Regions from separate parts of the Homo sapiens genome. Here region 2 is linked to region 1. The links are contacts of gene promoters, found by promoter capture Hi-C in human tissues and cell types (Jung and others, 2019). All regions are on one chromosome and are shown on one strand. The core of a region is centred on a gene start or on the middle of the fragment in contact, and the rest is flanking DNA. Distances in the headings are between cores, read along the strand shown. Region 1 holds the start of SLC2A11 (solute carrier family 2 member 11). Region 2 has its middle 14 kb from the start of PCAT14.

Region 1 (7,306 bases), core at 359-2,858:
TTATCTCAGCCAGGAAGTGTGCTGGGGGGCAAGATACAGCTGGGAAAGAGACAGCTGTGCTTTCACCATTCAGTGAGATACTGCACTGGAGGCTGGGGGAGCAGAGGAAGTGGCTCTGGAGGGCAGAATCCTGCTGAAGGCCTTGCCATAGGTCTGGAGACAGGTTGGTGACAGGGGCCCTGGCTGCCCATAGTTCCAATAAGGCCTAAGTAACTTTCTCTAAGGCTGGAAGCCTTAGGAAGAAGCCAGGTGAGAAACCTGGCATCTGGTCCCATTGAGGCCAAATTACAGCTCCACGGGGGCCGCATGGAAGTGAGAGCTCCCTTAAGACAGCAGATGTGAAGGAAGCAGCGAACACAGTGCTTGATGGCAGCTGAGCTCATGTAGCAGGAGATATTGACAGGTCTCTAAGACTACAGGAAATCGTTGAATTCAATGAGATCATGCATGGAGATTGCCTATACCGTGCCTGGTCATGGTAAGCATTCAGACATTAGCTACGATAGGGACCATTAATTCAGCAAACAAAGATTTATTGCCTCCCTATTATGGTCAATAATCCTACTGTTCTAGGTGTTGGGATACAGCAGTGAACAACAGACAAAATCCATGAGCTGTCAGAGCTTTCCTTCCAGCAGAGAAAGACAAGCAATCGCAAAATGAACAAGCAAAATATATAGTACATCAGCTGGTGCTACAGAGACTTAAAGCAGTGAAGGGGCGTAGGAAGTGTTTGGACCAGGTGGTGCTATTTTATTTTATTTTATTTTATTTTTATTTTTTAGAGACAAGGTCTCGCTACGTCGCCCACGCTGGAGTGCAGTGGTGAGATCCTATTAGATCCCTGCAGCTTCGAACTCCTGGGCGATCCTCCCACCTTAGTTGGTGCTATTTTAAATAAGGCTGTCAAGGAATACAAGTGCAAATCAAGACAAAGGAGGTGAGGGAATGTGCCATGCAAATACCTAAAGAAATCAGTCCAGATTGGGAAGGAACCCCTAGAAGCGGTGGGCAGTGCAGTGCGGGCGCTCTCCTCTGGCTGCGCCCTTTCCCTCTGTGAGGCAGGACGTCAGGTCAGAGCTGAGGGAGCATGAGGAGGAAAGAGGCGGGGGTGGGAAACAGTCTCGGGAGGGGGCGAGCAGTCAGGATTGCAGCGCTCGGAGGGCTTACTGCCTCTGAGGTCAGGGCTGATCGGCAGAGGATTTAGCATCTCTGGGGGCTGGGATGCCAGGGTCCAGCAACCTTGCTCTGGCCCACAGGCCGACCCTGGGCGTAAACACCTGCCTATGCACATCTGAGCCTAGCACCTAACGCCACTGTACATACAAGCACGATATTTTTGAACATTTGACGACTTAGTTAAGCCTCCCAGGTGGCTGCACCTGCGCAGTTCACTCAGGTCCGCAATCCCTCATCTGAAACGCCTGGTCTGGGCAAGTATGAGAATTCATACCATTCTAGATCGCAGGAGGGCGTGGAGCATTCGAAAGAGGGGCCTGAGCGGAGGTCTTGCTGTCCCAGGGAGACCCCGGCTGCCATTAGCAAGCGGTGAGCCGGCAGCCTGTGCGCGGAGGGAAGGGCAGCGCGCAGCGCCCAGTGGTGAAAGAGGCGCTAGCGCACGCGCAGTGAGCGTTTGAGAGGAGCAAACCCGTCGAGACGAAGCTGTAGCGCAAGCGCAGTGGGTATTGAGAGCGGCCGCACCAGCTGAGGGTTCGCGCAACGCTAAACGATGGCCGGGACTAAGGCCTGAGACTCAAGCTCAGGCGCAGTGAAGCGCAGAGCCGCTAGAGTGTCGCGGAGGGCGCCTGAGGCGCATGCGCGGACTCAGCGTTTTTAAGAAGGGCTGGGGGTGCTGGGGAGTTCGCCCCAGCGTGTTGGGGGGGAGTCGCCGCCGCGGGGGGGGGGTTTGGGGTCACCGCCGCGGGGTTTGTCGCCGCCGCTGGGAGCTCACCTGCGTCCGAGGCCGTAAGGACGGCTCCAGTTCATCCTCCATCCGCCTCTGCCGCAGCACTGAGGCTGAAAAGCCGCTCACTCCTTACTCGGCTAAGCCCCAAGCTCATCTCTGCAGGCCGGAAGGGAGCTCTGGTCCAAGGTCATCTCGGCCAAGCCCCTGCATTCGCCCTCGCAAGTGCCAGCAAGCGACTCTGGTCGCCGCGCTCCCAAGTCCTCCCCCGAAATTCCGGCTCTGGCCCCTCGTCCCCCTCCTTTGCTACAGTCTCTGGACTAAATGTCTGCGGGTCTCTGTCTCTCGCTGGTCTGACCTCAGCCGCAACCCTGCGCGATTCCCTGCGCCGGTCGCCACTGCCGGCCGCCAGAACCTCGGAGGCCACTGCCCCTGGGCGTTCTCCGGAGGGCCAAGCCCTTGGTTGTGCACATCTATGCACGCCCCACCTACACCCCCCCCCCCCCACACACACACACTTTGGTTCAGGTATCCCCGACCTTTCCCCAGAGGACGGGAAAATTAGGAAAGACCGAAAGATAGACCCACCAGTCTTCGGAGCGCTCTCATCTGTGCGTCCTGGGCAGAGCGAGAGACTTGGCGGAATGCGGGTAGGAGAACCGGTCTCGGGTTGCCGCCAGGGGATCCATTGCGTGAGAGGCAGGTCCGACTTATGCTGGGGGCACTTGGAGTTGAGGAACCACAGAGTCCACTGAACCGGATTAATCTTTTATCCCTCAGGGCTTCTCAGGCCCTGCATGGAGGAATCCAGGAGCTGGACAAAGACCAACTGAAACTAGACTTGCCAAAGATGCTATTTGTGGTCACAGAAACATAGAGCTGGACATGACCTTAAGAAGTCACCTGAGCAGACACTGTGATGGGCACTGTAGTAGCTCTATTGCTCAGACTTGGTTTTTGTTTGACTTTTGCTGCTCTGAACTTTAATTCCTAAAAACACTGCATTTTTAAGGAAAAACACAAAATATTAGCAGTTATAATAAATAGGTATTTTATTGCATGCTTTTCGTGCATCTATTAAGATGATCATATGGGTATTCTCCTTTAATCTGTTAATGAGATCAGTTACATCAATAAACTTTCTAATGGTAAACCATTCTTGAATTCTTGGGGTAGACGCAACTTGGTCATAATATTATTGTTATTAATACATTGTTAGTTTCAACTGCTGATATTTTATTTTGATAGGTTAATTTTTTTCTTTTTTTTTTTTAATTTATTTATTTTTTTTTTATTGATCATTCTTGGGTGTTTCTCGCAGAGGGGGATTTGGCAGGGTCATAGGACAATAGTGGAGGGAAGGTCAGCAGATAAACAAGTGAACAAAGGTCTCTGGTTTTCCTAGGCAGAGGACCCTGCGGCCTTGGCCTTCCGCAGTGTTTGTGTCCCTGGGTACTTAAGATTAGGGAGTGGTGATGACTCTTAACGAGCATGCTGCCTTCAAGCATCTGTTTAACAAAGCACATCTTGCACCGCCCTTAATCCATTTAACCCTGAGTGGACACAGCACATGTTTCAGAGAGCACAGGGTTGGGGATAAGGTCACAGATCAACAGGATCCCAAGGCAGAAGAATTTTTCTTAGTACAGAACAAAATGAAAAGTCTCCCATGTCTACTTCTATCCACAGAGACCCGGCAACCATCCGATTTCTCAATTTTTTCCCCACCCTTCCCGCCTTTCTATTCCACAAAACCGCCATTGTCATCATGGCCCATCCCCAATGAGCCGCTGGGCACACCTCCCAGACGGGGTCGTGGCCGGGCAGAGGGGCTCCTCACTTCCCAGTAGGGGCGGCCGGGCAGAAGCGCCCCTCACCTCCCGGATGGGGCGGCTGGCCGGGCGGGGGGCTGACCCCCCCACCACCCTCCCGGACGGGGCGGCTGGCCAGGCAGAGGGGCTCCTCACTTCCCAGTAGGGACGGCCGGGCAGAGGCGCCCCTCACCTCCTGGATAGGGCGGCTGGCTGGGCGGGGGGCTGTCCCCCCCACCTCCCTCCCGGACGGGGCGGCTGGCCGGGCAGAGGGGTCCTCACTTCCCAGTAGGGGCGGCCGGGCAGAGGCGCCCCTCACCTCCCGGACGGGGCGGCCGGCCGGAAGGGGGGCTGACCCCCCCCACCTCCCTCCCGGACGGGGCGGCTGGCCGACCCCCCCCCCCCCACCCCGCCTCCCTCCCGGACGGGGCGGCTGGCCGGGCAGAGGGGCTCCTCACTTTCCAGTAGGGGCGGCCGGGCAGAGGCGCCCCTCACCTCCCGGACGGGGCGACTGGCCAGGCGGGGGGCTGATCCCCCCACCTCCCTCCCGGACGGGGCGGCTGGCCAGGCGGGGGGCTGACCCCCCCCACCTCCCTCCCGGACGGGGCGGCTGGCCGGGCAGGGGGCTGACCCCCCCTCCCCCCTCCCGGACGGGGCGGCTGGCCGGGCAGGGGGCTGACCCCCCCACCTCCCTCCCGGATGGGGCGGCTGGCCAGGTGGGGGGATGACCCCCCCACCTCCCTCCCGGGCGGGGCGGCTGGCCGGGCAGAGGGGCTCCTCACTTCCCAGTAGGGGCGGCCGGGCAGAGGCGCCCCTCACCTCCCGGATGGGGCGGCTGGCCAGGCGGGGGGCTGATCCCCCCACCTCCCTCCCAGACGGGGCGGCTGGCCGGGCGGGGGGCTGACCCCCCACCTCCCTCCCGGACTGGGCGGCTGGCCGGGCGGGGGGCTGACCCCCCCACCTCCCTCCTGGACGGGGCGTCTGGCCGGGCAGAGGGGCTCCTCACTTCCCAGTAGGGGCGGCCGGGCAGAGGAGCCCCTCACCTCCAGGACGGGGCGGCTGGCCGGGCGGGGGGCTGACCCCCCCCACCTCCCTCCCGGACGGGGTGGCTGCTGGGCGGAGACGCTCCTCACTTCCCAGACGGGGTGGTTGCCGGACGGAGGGGCTCCTCACTTCTCAGACGGGGCGGTTGCCAGGCAGAGGGTTTCCTCACTTCTCAGACGGAGCAGCCGGGCAGAGACGCTCCCCACCTCCCAGACAGGGCTGCGGCCCAGCAGAGGCGCTCCTCACATCCCAGACAGGGCGGCGGGGCAGAGGTGCTCCCCACATCTCAGACGATGGGCGGCCGGGCAGAGACGCTCCTCACTTCCTAGATGGGATGGCGGCGGGGAAGAGGCGCTCCTCGCTTCCCAGATGGGATGGCGGCCGGGCAGAGACGCTCCTCACTTTCCAGACTGGGCAGCCAGGCAGAGGGGCTCCTCACATCCCAGACGATGGGTGGCCAAGCAGAGACGCTCCTCACTTCCCATACGGGGTGGCGGCCGGGCAGAGGCTGCAATCTCGGCTCTCCGGGAGGCCAAGGCAGGCGGCTGGGAGGTGGTTGCAGCGAGCCGAGATCACGCCACTGCACTCCAGCCTGGGCACCATTGAGCACTGAGTGAACGAGACTCCATCTGCAATCCCGGCACCTCGGGAGGCCGAGGCTGGCGGATCACTCGCGGCTAGGAGCTGGAGACCAGCCCGGCCAACACAGCGAAACCCCGTCTCCACCAAAAAAAAAACGAAAACCAGTCAGGCGTGGCGGTGCGCGCCTGCAATCGCAGGCACTCGGCAGGCTGAGGCAGGAGAATCAGGCAGGGAGGTTGCAGTGAGCCGAGATGGCAGCAGTACCGTCCAGCCTTGGCTCGGCATCAGAGGGAGACCGTGGAGGGAGAGGGAGAGGGAGAGGGAGAGGGAGGGGGAGGGGGAGGGAGAGGGAGAGGGAGAGGGAGAGGGAGAGGGAGAGCAGGTTAATTTTTTTTCAAAACAACCATTGCCTTTTCCCCCTTAAGAAATAAGTGGGAAGTGGCCGGGTGCGGTGGCTCACGCCTGTAATCCCAGCACTTTGGGAGGCCGAGGCAGGCAGATCACGAGGTCAGGAGATCGAGACCATCCTGGCTAACACGGTGAAACCCTGTCTCTATTAAAAATACAAAAAATTAGCCGGGCGTGGCGGCACGCTCCTGTAGTCCCAGCTACTCGGGAGGCTGAGGCGAGAGAATGGCGTGAACCCGGGAGGCGGAGCTTGCAGTGAGCCAAGGTCGTGCCACTGCACTCCCGTCTGGGCGACAGAGAGACTCCGTCTCAAAAAATAATAATAATAAATAAGTGGGAAGTGACGGGCTAATAAATGGCGCTAGGACAGTTGATGATATGGGGAAAAAGTGTGGACCTCTGTCTCACTTCATATACAAAAGTCATTCCAGGTACACACAAACCTAATGCAAAAACCTAACTTCAAACATTTTAGGCTGGACGCAGTAGCTCCCACCTGTAATCCCAGCACTTTGGGAGACTGAGGCAGGAGGATCACTTGAGCGCATAAGTTCAAGACCAGCCTGGGCAACATGGGCAGACCCCCATCTCTATAAAAAAAAATGTAAAGGCCGGGCGAGGTGGCTAATGCCTGTAATCCGAGCACTTTGGGAGGCCAAGGCAGGTGGATCACCTGAGGTCAGGAGTTCCAGACCAGCCTGGCCAACATGGCGAAACCCCGTCTCTACTAAAAATACAAAAATTAGCTGGGTGTGGTGGCGGGCACCTGTAATCCCAGCTACTCAGGAGGCTGAGGCAGGAGAGTCACCTGAACCCAGGAGACAGAGGTTGCAGTGAGCCAAGATTGCGCCACTGTACTCCAGCCTAGATGACAGAGTGAAACTCCATCTCAAAAAATAAAAATAAAAAGGAAATATATAATACTTTTATAACCCCGGGTTAAACAAGGATAAACCACGCAGATTTCTTATGAGGATTTAACCTTATTAAAATTAAAAATCTGTGTGTTAAAAGACACCATTAATGGGCCAGGCACAGTGGTTTACGCCTGTAATCCAAGTACCTTGGGAGGCCACGGTGGGTGGATTGCTTGAGCCCAGGAGTTTGAGAACAGCCCGGGCAGCATGGCAAAACCCCGTCTCTACAAAAATTACAAAAAATTAGCCGGGCATGATGGCTTGAGCCTGTGGTCCCAGCTACCCAGGAGACTGAGGCTCAGGGAGGATTACCTGAGCCAGGGAAGTTGAGGCTGCAGTAATCGGTGATCACAGCACTGCACTCCAACTGGGGCAACAGAGTAAGACCCTGTCTCAAATAAACAAACAAAAGACGCCATGAAAAGGTGAAACCTGGCCAGGTGTGGTGGCTCCAGCCTGCGATCCTAGCACTTTGGGAGGCCGAAGTGGGAGGATCACTTGAGTTCAAGAGTTCGAGACCAGCCCTGACAACATAGTGAGACCACATCTCGATTTTTTAAATAAAAAAATACGCATTTTTTAAAAAGTTGAAACCTAAAGCTACCAAGTAGAAGAAGGTAACTACAACATATGACCAACAC
Region 2 (6,773 bases), core at 984-3,483, 300 kb after region 1:
TTGCTCCAGGGCCCACAGATGTCAGGGGTGGGCCTGCTTGGACCCAGCTCTTTAATCTCTCACCTACAGGATAAGGTGCAGGGCGCTCAGCTTGGTGAGTGAAGCCCCTTGGAGCCTGGCTCCCTCTTCGGCTCCAACTGAACGCCTCCCTCCTCCGCATCACCCCCCAGCACCCAGCCTATGGTATTTGAATGTTCTGGGCACATTCTCGTCTCCGTGCCTTTGCACATGTTCCCTCTGCCTAGAACATTCTTCTTCCATGTATCTCCTTGGGGAACTCCTATTCATCCCTCAAAACCCAACTTAGATTTCATGATTCTGAGGGCCCCTTTGTGCCCTCACCCCCTTCTCTGACTGCATCGACCCTGCTTTGTTATAATTATTTCATCCTGCTTCTTCTCTGCAGGCAGCTTATCAGCTTTTCCATGACGGTTTTAGAATGAGACCTGGCTTTGCCTCAGGCCCTTGTACTTTCCAGGGCTCCGAACTTGGGTGTTATCCACCCACCTGTCTACAACCTTTTTGTTCGTGATGAAATGGGGGCTTAAAGTATTGCCCACCGCATTGTGTTGCCTTGACATTGAGACAAGATCTCACATGCGAAGGGTTCAGCACAGTGTGTGGCGTAGAGTCACAGCACTGGTTCGTTTTTTTCTTTTTCTTTTTTTTTTTGATACGGAGTCTCACTCTGTTGCCCCGGTTGGGGTGCAGTGGCATGATCTCAGCTCACTGCAACCTCCGTCTCCTGGGTTCAAGCAATTCTCCTGCCTCAGCCTCCCAAATAGCTGGGACTACAGGCGCGAGTCACCATGCCTCGGCTAATTTTTGTATTTTTAGTAGAGACCGGTTTTCACCATGTTGGCCATGGTGGTCTCAAACTCCTGACCTCAAGTGACCCGCCCATCTCAGCCTCCCTAGATGTTAGGATTACAGGCATGAGCCACCGCACCTGGCCAGTACTGGTTATTTCAACGTCTTTCCTGTGGGCAGGCAAGCTCTGTGAGGCCACGGAGGGCATTTTCTCCATCTTGGGATTCATGGAGTCCAGGGTGGGGCATTTCCCAGGGTGGACCCCAGGTGGACAGGTCTGTGGGTGGCTTGGGCTCTGCTGCTCTGCCCCTTCCCTGGAAACTGTCCCCACTCTGAGTGCCTTTGCTGGCTGTGCTGTGGGGATAGGGCCTCATGTCCCTCGAGGGGGCTTCCATCTGGAGTGAACGGAGCCAGTGGGGCCCACAGGGTGAATGGGCAGTGCTGGGGGCAGATGTACAGTCAGGAGAGAGGGACTTTGACCTTCAGAACACCATCGGCAGAACTTGGGGCCTTTCCAAGGGGGGCTGCCTCCATTCCATCCCCCAAGGGCCTGCCCAGCATGGGGGGAGCAGGGCAGGGTGCCCGGGAGGCATGAGGACTGGCCCCAGCTGCAGCACTCGGCGAGAATCTCTTGAACTCTCGGCTGCACCGAAAGGCGAAGGCAGCGGGGCCCTGGAGATGGTCTCCATGACAACCGCTGCCACTCACTCCGCATCTTGGATGTAAATTAGTTACAATTTTATTAGTGTGCAGAATTTCAAGAGTCCAGATCCTGTCTTGGAAGGGAAAAGGAAGGTGGGGGGACAGAGGAGTTTCCGAAGCTTCACATCCCCACAGGGACCCCAAATCCAAGGTGGATCCATGGACAGTGAATTGGGCCATGCACCCTAATTCATCAGCCCTGGTCAGGCTCTCTGGAGAGAAGGAAACACATAGGACTGTTCCCGCTCTTCTGGCCACCTCCTCACAGCAGCCTGGGAGCACCCCCTCCCCAGTCGACAGGAAAGCAGCTGAAGGCCATGGGGGTCATTAGCTGGCACAAGGGCACCCACTCACCAGGAGCCAGACACTTGCTCTCCCACTCTGCCCAGCAGCCCTCCAAGGTTGGTTAAGGTTCACTGAAACACTGCTGGGCACCACATAACCAGGTGAGGACATCCCCAGGGGTTTGGGCGTCTGGACAAACACCAGGCCCTGCTTGCCAAGAGTCAGCATGTAGAGCTACTATCCTGTGGCTGGAGGTCGTGTGTTTGTCCCCTCTAGCACTGGGCAAATGAGGCTGGTGACACCCGAGTCACAGCAGCGTTTGATGCTCTGAATCATGTGTGCATATACACATGCACACACAGATTTTTCTCTAAGGAGGGAATAAAGGGACAGATTTGTCTCTTCCCTAAGGCCATTGTTAAAATTAGTTGTGTTCTCCCAAGGCGCAGCCCACCGTGTGTGTCCCTGAGGTGGCTCTACTCCCTCTGCTTTGGGGTGAGCCACAAGAGAGCAGGCCCCAATGAGGTCATGGGCCAGCAAGGCCACCAGAACTCCCCATCTGTGGCTGGCACTGAGGTGGACACTGAGAAGTTGGTACTGCAGAGGCAGGGCCAGGTGCAGGAGGAGAGGGTGTGGAGTGTATCAGGGCAGGTCCCACACAGGTGTGAGTCCCTGGGCCAACAAAGAGGAGAAAAAGCAGGCCTGGCTGAGAGAACAGCCTATATTAAGGCTTAGAGGCATGACAAAGCCTGAGTGAGGGCTTGGGGCATGGGAGGATAAGAGAATGAACAAGGAATAGAGGAGAATGAATGGAGACTGAAGGGAGATTGATGGGAAGGTGGATGGGAGGATGGATGGAAAAATTGTTGCAAGGGTGGATGGGAGGATGGATGAAAGGATGGATGGGAGGATGGGGGAGAATGGATGGAAAGATGGATGAGAGGATTGATGAGAAGATGGATGGGAAGATGGCTGAAGGATGGATGGAAAAATGGATGCAAGGATGAATGAAAGATGAATGGGTGGATGGATAGAAAGATGGATGGGAGGATGGGTGGGAGGAAAGATGAAGGATAGATGGGAAAATGGATGGGAGGATGCATGGGAGGATGGACAGAAGAATGGATAGGAGAATGGATGGAAAGATGGATGGGAGGATGGATGGGAGGATAGATGGAGGATAGATGGGAAGGTGGAGGGAGGTAGAAGAGAGGATGGATGGAGAATGAATGGAAGATTGATGGGAGAATGGATGAGAGGGTGGACAGAGGAATGGATGGAAGATAAATGGAAAGATGGATGGGAGCATTGATGAGAAAATTGACGAAAGGATGGATGAAAGGATGGATGGGAGGATAGAGGGAGAATGGATGAATGGGAGGATGGATGGAAAAATGAATGGGAGGATGAATGAAGGATGGATGGGTGGATGGATGGAAAGATGGATGGGAGGATGGATGACAGGATGAATGAAGGATAGATGAGAAAATGGATGGTAGAATGCATGGGAGGATAGACAGAGGAATGAATGGGAGGATGGATGAAAAGATGGATGGGAGGATGGATGTAAAGATGAATAAGAGGATGGATGACGGGATGAATGAAGGATAGATGGGAAAATGGATGGGAAGATGCAGGAGAGGATAGACAGAGGAATGAATGGGAGGATGGATGAAAAAGATGGATGGGAGGATGAATGAAGAATAAGATGGAGGGAGAATGGATGGGAAGATAAATGGAGAATGGATGGAAGATAGACGGTAGGGTGGATGGGAGGATGGATAGAGGGTGGACAGAGAAATAGAGGAAAGATGAATGGAAAGAAAGATGGGAGGATTGATGGGAGGGTGGATGGGTGGATGAATGGAAGATGGATGGAGGATGGATGAAAGATGGATGGAGAATGGCTGGGAGGATGGATGAAAAGATGAGTAGAGGATGAATGGGAGGGTGGTTGAAGGATGAAATGAAAGATGGATGGGAGGATGCATGGGAGGATCGACAAAAGGATGGGAGAATGGATGGAGGATGGAAGGAAAAAATGGATGAGAGGATGGATAGAGAATGGAGGGAGGATGGATGGGAAAGTGGAAAGAGAATGAATGGAGGATGAACAGAAGATGGATGAAGGATGGATGGAGGATTGCTGGAAGGATGGATGGAAAGATAGATGGAGAACAAAAGGGAGAATGGATGGGAGGATGGTGATGATGGATGGGGATAGACAGAGGAATGAATTGGAGGATGGATGGAAAAATGGATGGGAGAATGGATGGAGAATGGATGGAGGATAGATTGGAGAGTGAATGGGAGGATAAATGGCAGGGTGAACAGAGGAATAAATGGAAGATGGATAAGAGAATGGAAGGATGGATGAGAGGAGGAATGAAGGATGGATGAAGTGTGGATGGAGGATGGCTGGGAGGATGGGTGAAAAGATGAATGGGGTATGGATGGGAGAATGGATGAGAGGGTGGTTGAAGGATAAATGGAAAGATGGATAGAAGATGAATGAAGGATGGATGAGAGGATGGATGGTGGATGGATAATGGATGGGGGGATGGATGGAAGGATGGTTGGGAGGATGATTGGAGGATGGATGGGAGGATGAATGAAGGATGGAAGATGGATGGGATAATGGAGGGAGAATGGATAGATGAGAAGATGGATGGATGGGAGGATGGATAGGATGATAGATGGATGGAGGACAGATGGGAGGACAGGTGAAGGATGGATAAAAAGATGGATGGGAGAATGAAGAATGGATGGGAGTATGGATGGAAAGATGGATGGGAGGATAGATAGAAGATGGATAGAAAGGTGGATGGGTGGAAAGATGGAAAGATGAAGCGTGGATGGATGGGAGAATAGACAAAGGATATAAGGGGGAATGAATGGGAGGATGAATGGGAGGATGGAAGGGTGGATGGATGGAAAGATGAATAGGAGGATGGATGGGAGAATAAATAAAGAATAGGTGGGAGAATGGATAAAGGATACATGGGATAATAAATGGGAGGATGGATGGGAAGATGGATGAAAAGATGGATGGGATGATGAATGAAGGATGGATGGGTGAACGCATGAAAAGATGGATGGGAGGACGGGTGAAGAATTGATGGAAAGATAGATGGATGGAAGGATGGAGGATGCATGAGAAGATGGAAGGAGGATGAATGAAGGATAGACGAGAGAATGGGAGGATGGAAGGGAGGATGGACAGAGGAATAAATAGGAGGATGGATGGAAAGATGAATGAGAAGATGGATAAGAGGATGTATGGGAGAATGAAGAATGAATGGGAGGATGGCTGGAAAGATGGATGAGAGGATGAATGAAGGATAAGTGGGAGGATGGATGGGAGGAAGGATTGGGAATGATTGGGAGGATGAATACAGAATGTATGGAAATATGGTTGGGAGGATGGATGGAGGATGGATGGAAAGATGGATGGGAGGATGAAATGGGAAGGTCGATGGAGGATAGATGGGAAAATAGATGGGAGGATTCATGGGGTATGAGTGGAAGATGGATGGAGGTTGGATGAGGAATGAATGGAGGATGACCGAGGGGATGAATGGAAAGATGGATGGAGGATGAGTGGGGGGATGAATAGGAGAATGGATGGAGGATGGATGGGTAGATGGATGATGGATGGGTAGTTGGATGATGGACAGGGGGACGGTTGAAGGATGGATGGAAAGATGGAAAGATGGATGGGAGGATGAATGGGAGGATGGAAGGGAGCATGAATGAAGGATGGATGATAGGATGAATGGAGGATGGATTGGGAGGATGAATGGTAGGATAGATGAAGTATGGATGGGAGAATGGGTGGGTGGATGGGCAGGAGGAGTGGATGAGAGGCTGTTTCACAGTTATGCCCATGTGCTATGGCAACAGACCAGACTAGGACTCAAATCCCAGCTATTCCATACGATACTAGTGTCATCTTGCATAAGTTTTGTAACCCCTCTGATCCTCAGTTTTCTTGGGCGGGAGGACAGACAGGAGGATATGCAGATGGATTAAAATGAGTACTCTTAATACATACAGAAAACTTAGGACACGTCCTGACACACAGTCGGTGCTTAATAAATGTGCACTCGATGATTGCATCCCATGTTCTAAACTCAGCCTTGGGGACGTGTGTGAGGAGTGAGATGCTGGGGCTGCCCTCGGGGACTCAGCATCTGCTGAGCAATGTGATCAGTCCTGATTCAGGGCCCCTTGGGATGGTCAGGGAAAGGGCCCCATGGGTGACCCAAGTCAGAAGGGAGGAGGGGGGAAATGATCATGAATCTGTATTGGCTGGGCCCAGGGTCAAGGCAGTCAGGGGGCCGGGAAGAGGGGCATCAGCGCTGGGGGTCTGGAGGCCAGGGGAAAACCAGGGGAGGGTGGGAACCAACGTGACAGGGATCAAAGGGAGAAGAAGGAAATGGGTCACTTGGATTTGGCCCCCCAGCAGCAGTTGGGGATTTCTGTTGGGGATTTCTGTAAGAGCCGTTTAGTGGCATTGGGGCTGGGAGGCCATTGGCTGAGGACATGCAGTGAGGGCCGGGCAAGGGGGCAGAGAGTGGCTCATGCCATGGCAGCTGCTTTCAAACACCAGAGGGGCCACTCTGACAGTTCTCTTCCTTGCTCAGGTAGAACCAGGGCCTGCCCCCTACCCCATGTGCAGGCCTGCCCTGGGTGAGAAAGTTCCTTCGGTTCATGATGTGTGCAATCACAAACTGCGGGCTCTGGTTTGATTAGACAGTCTGAGCCCCATTCGGGTGGACAAGAACACAGAGGCCTCTCCTCCTCAGGAGGGAGCCAGCCATGTGGACAGCCTTTCCCAGCAGGCCTGGAGAACCACCAGCCAGCGGCAGGCCTCTCCCTGCGGTGGCCCACACTCTCAGGATGTGAGATTGAAGTATCAAGGATCTGAAGCAGGGGCTGTGTGTCAAGGGAACTGCCAGTCTGTCATTTGATTG

What was found. The method cuts DNA at HindIII sites, captures the fragments that hold promoters and counts their contacts. A contact is called where the count stands out against the background at its distance.
Region 2: a contact is called between a fragment that was not itself captured here and the fragment with the promoter of SLC2A11 in region 1, in 2 of the 25 tissues and cell types used here (mesendoderm cells and spleen).

What each region holds. Positions count from the first base shown.
Region 1 is chr22:23,852,177-23,859,482 of GRCh38, reverse strand. It overlaps SLC2A11 (solute carrier family 2 member 11), which reads right to left and starts at 1,608. Exons shown (of 12, transcript NM_001024939.4): 1 at 1,454-1,608. The coding sequence starts at 1,483. The HindIII fragment of the contact is 17,543 bases long and covers 1-7,306 here.
Region 2 is chr22:23,548,838-23,555,610 of GRCh38, reverse strand. No RefSeq gene overlaps it. Among named protein-coding and RNA genes, the nearest start is that of PCAT14, 14 kb to the right of the region's middle. RefSeq lists an enhancer at 6,099-6,599. The HindIII fragment of the contact is 7,531 bases long and covers 1-5,998 here.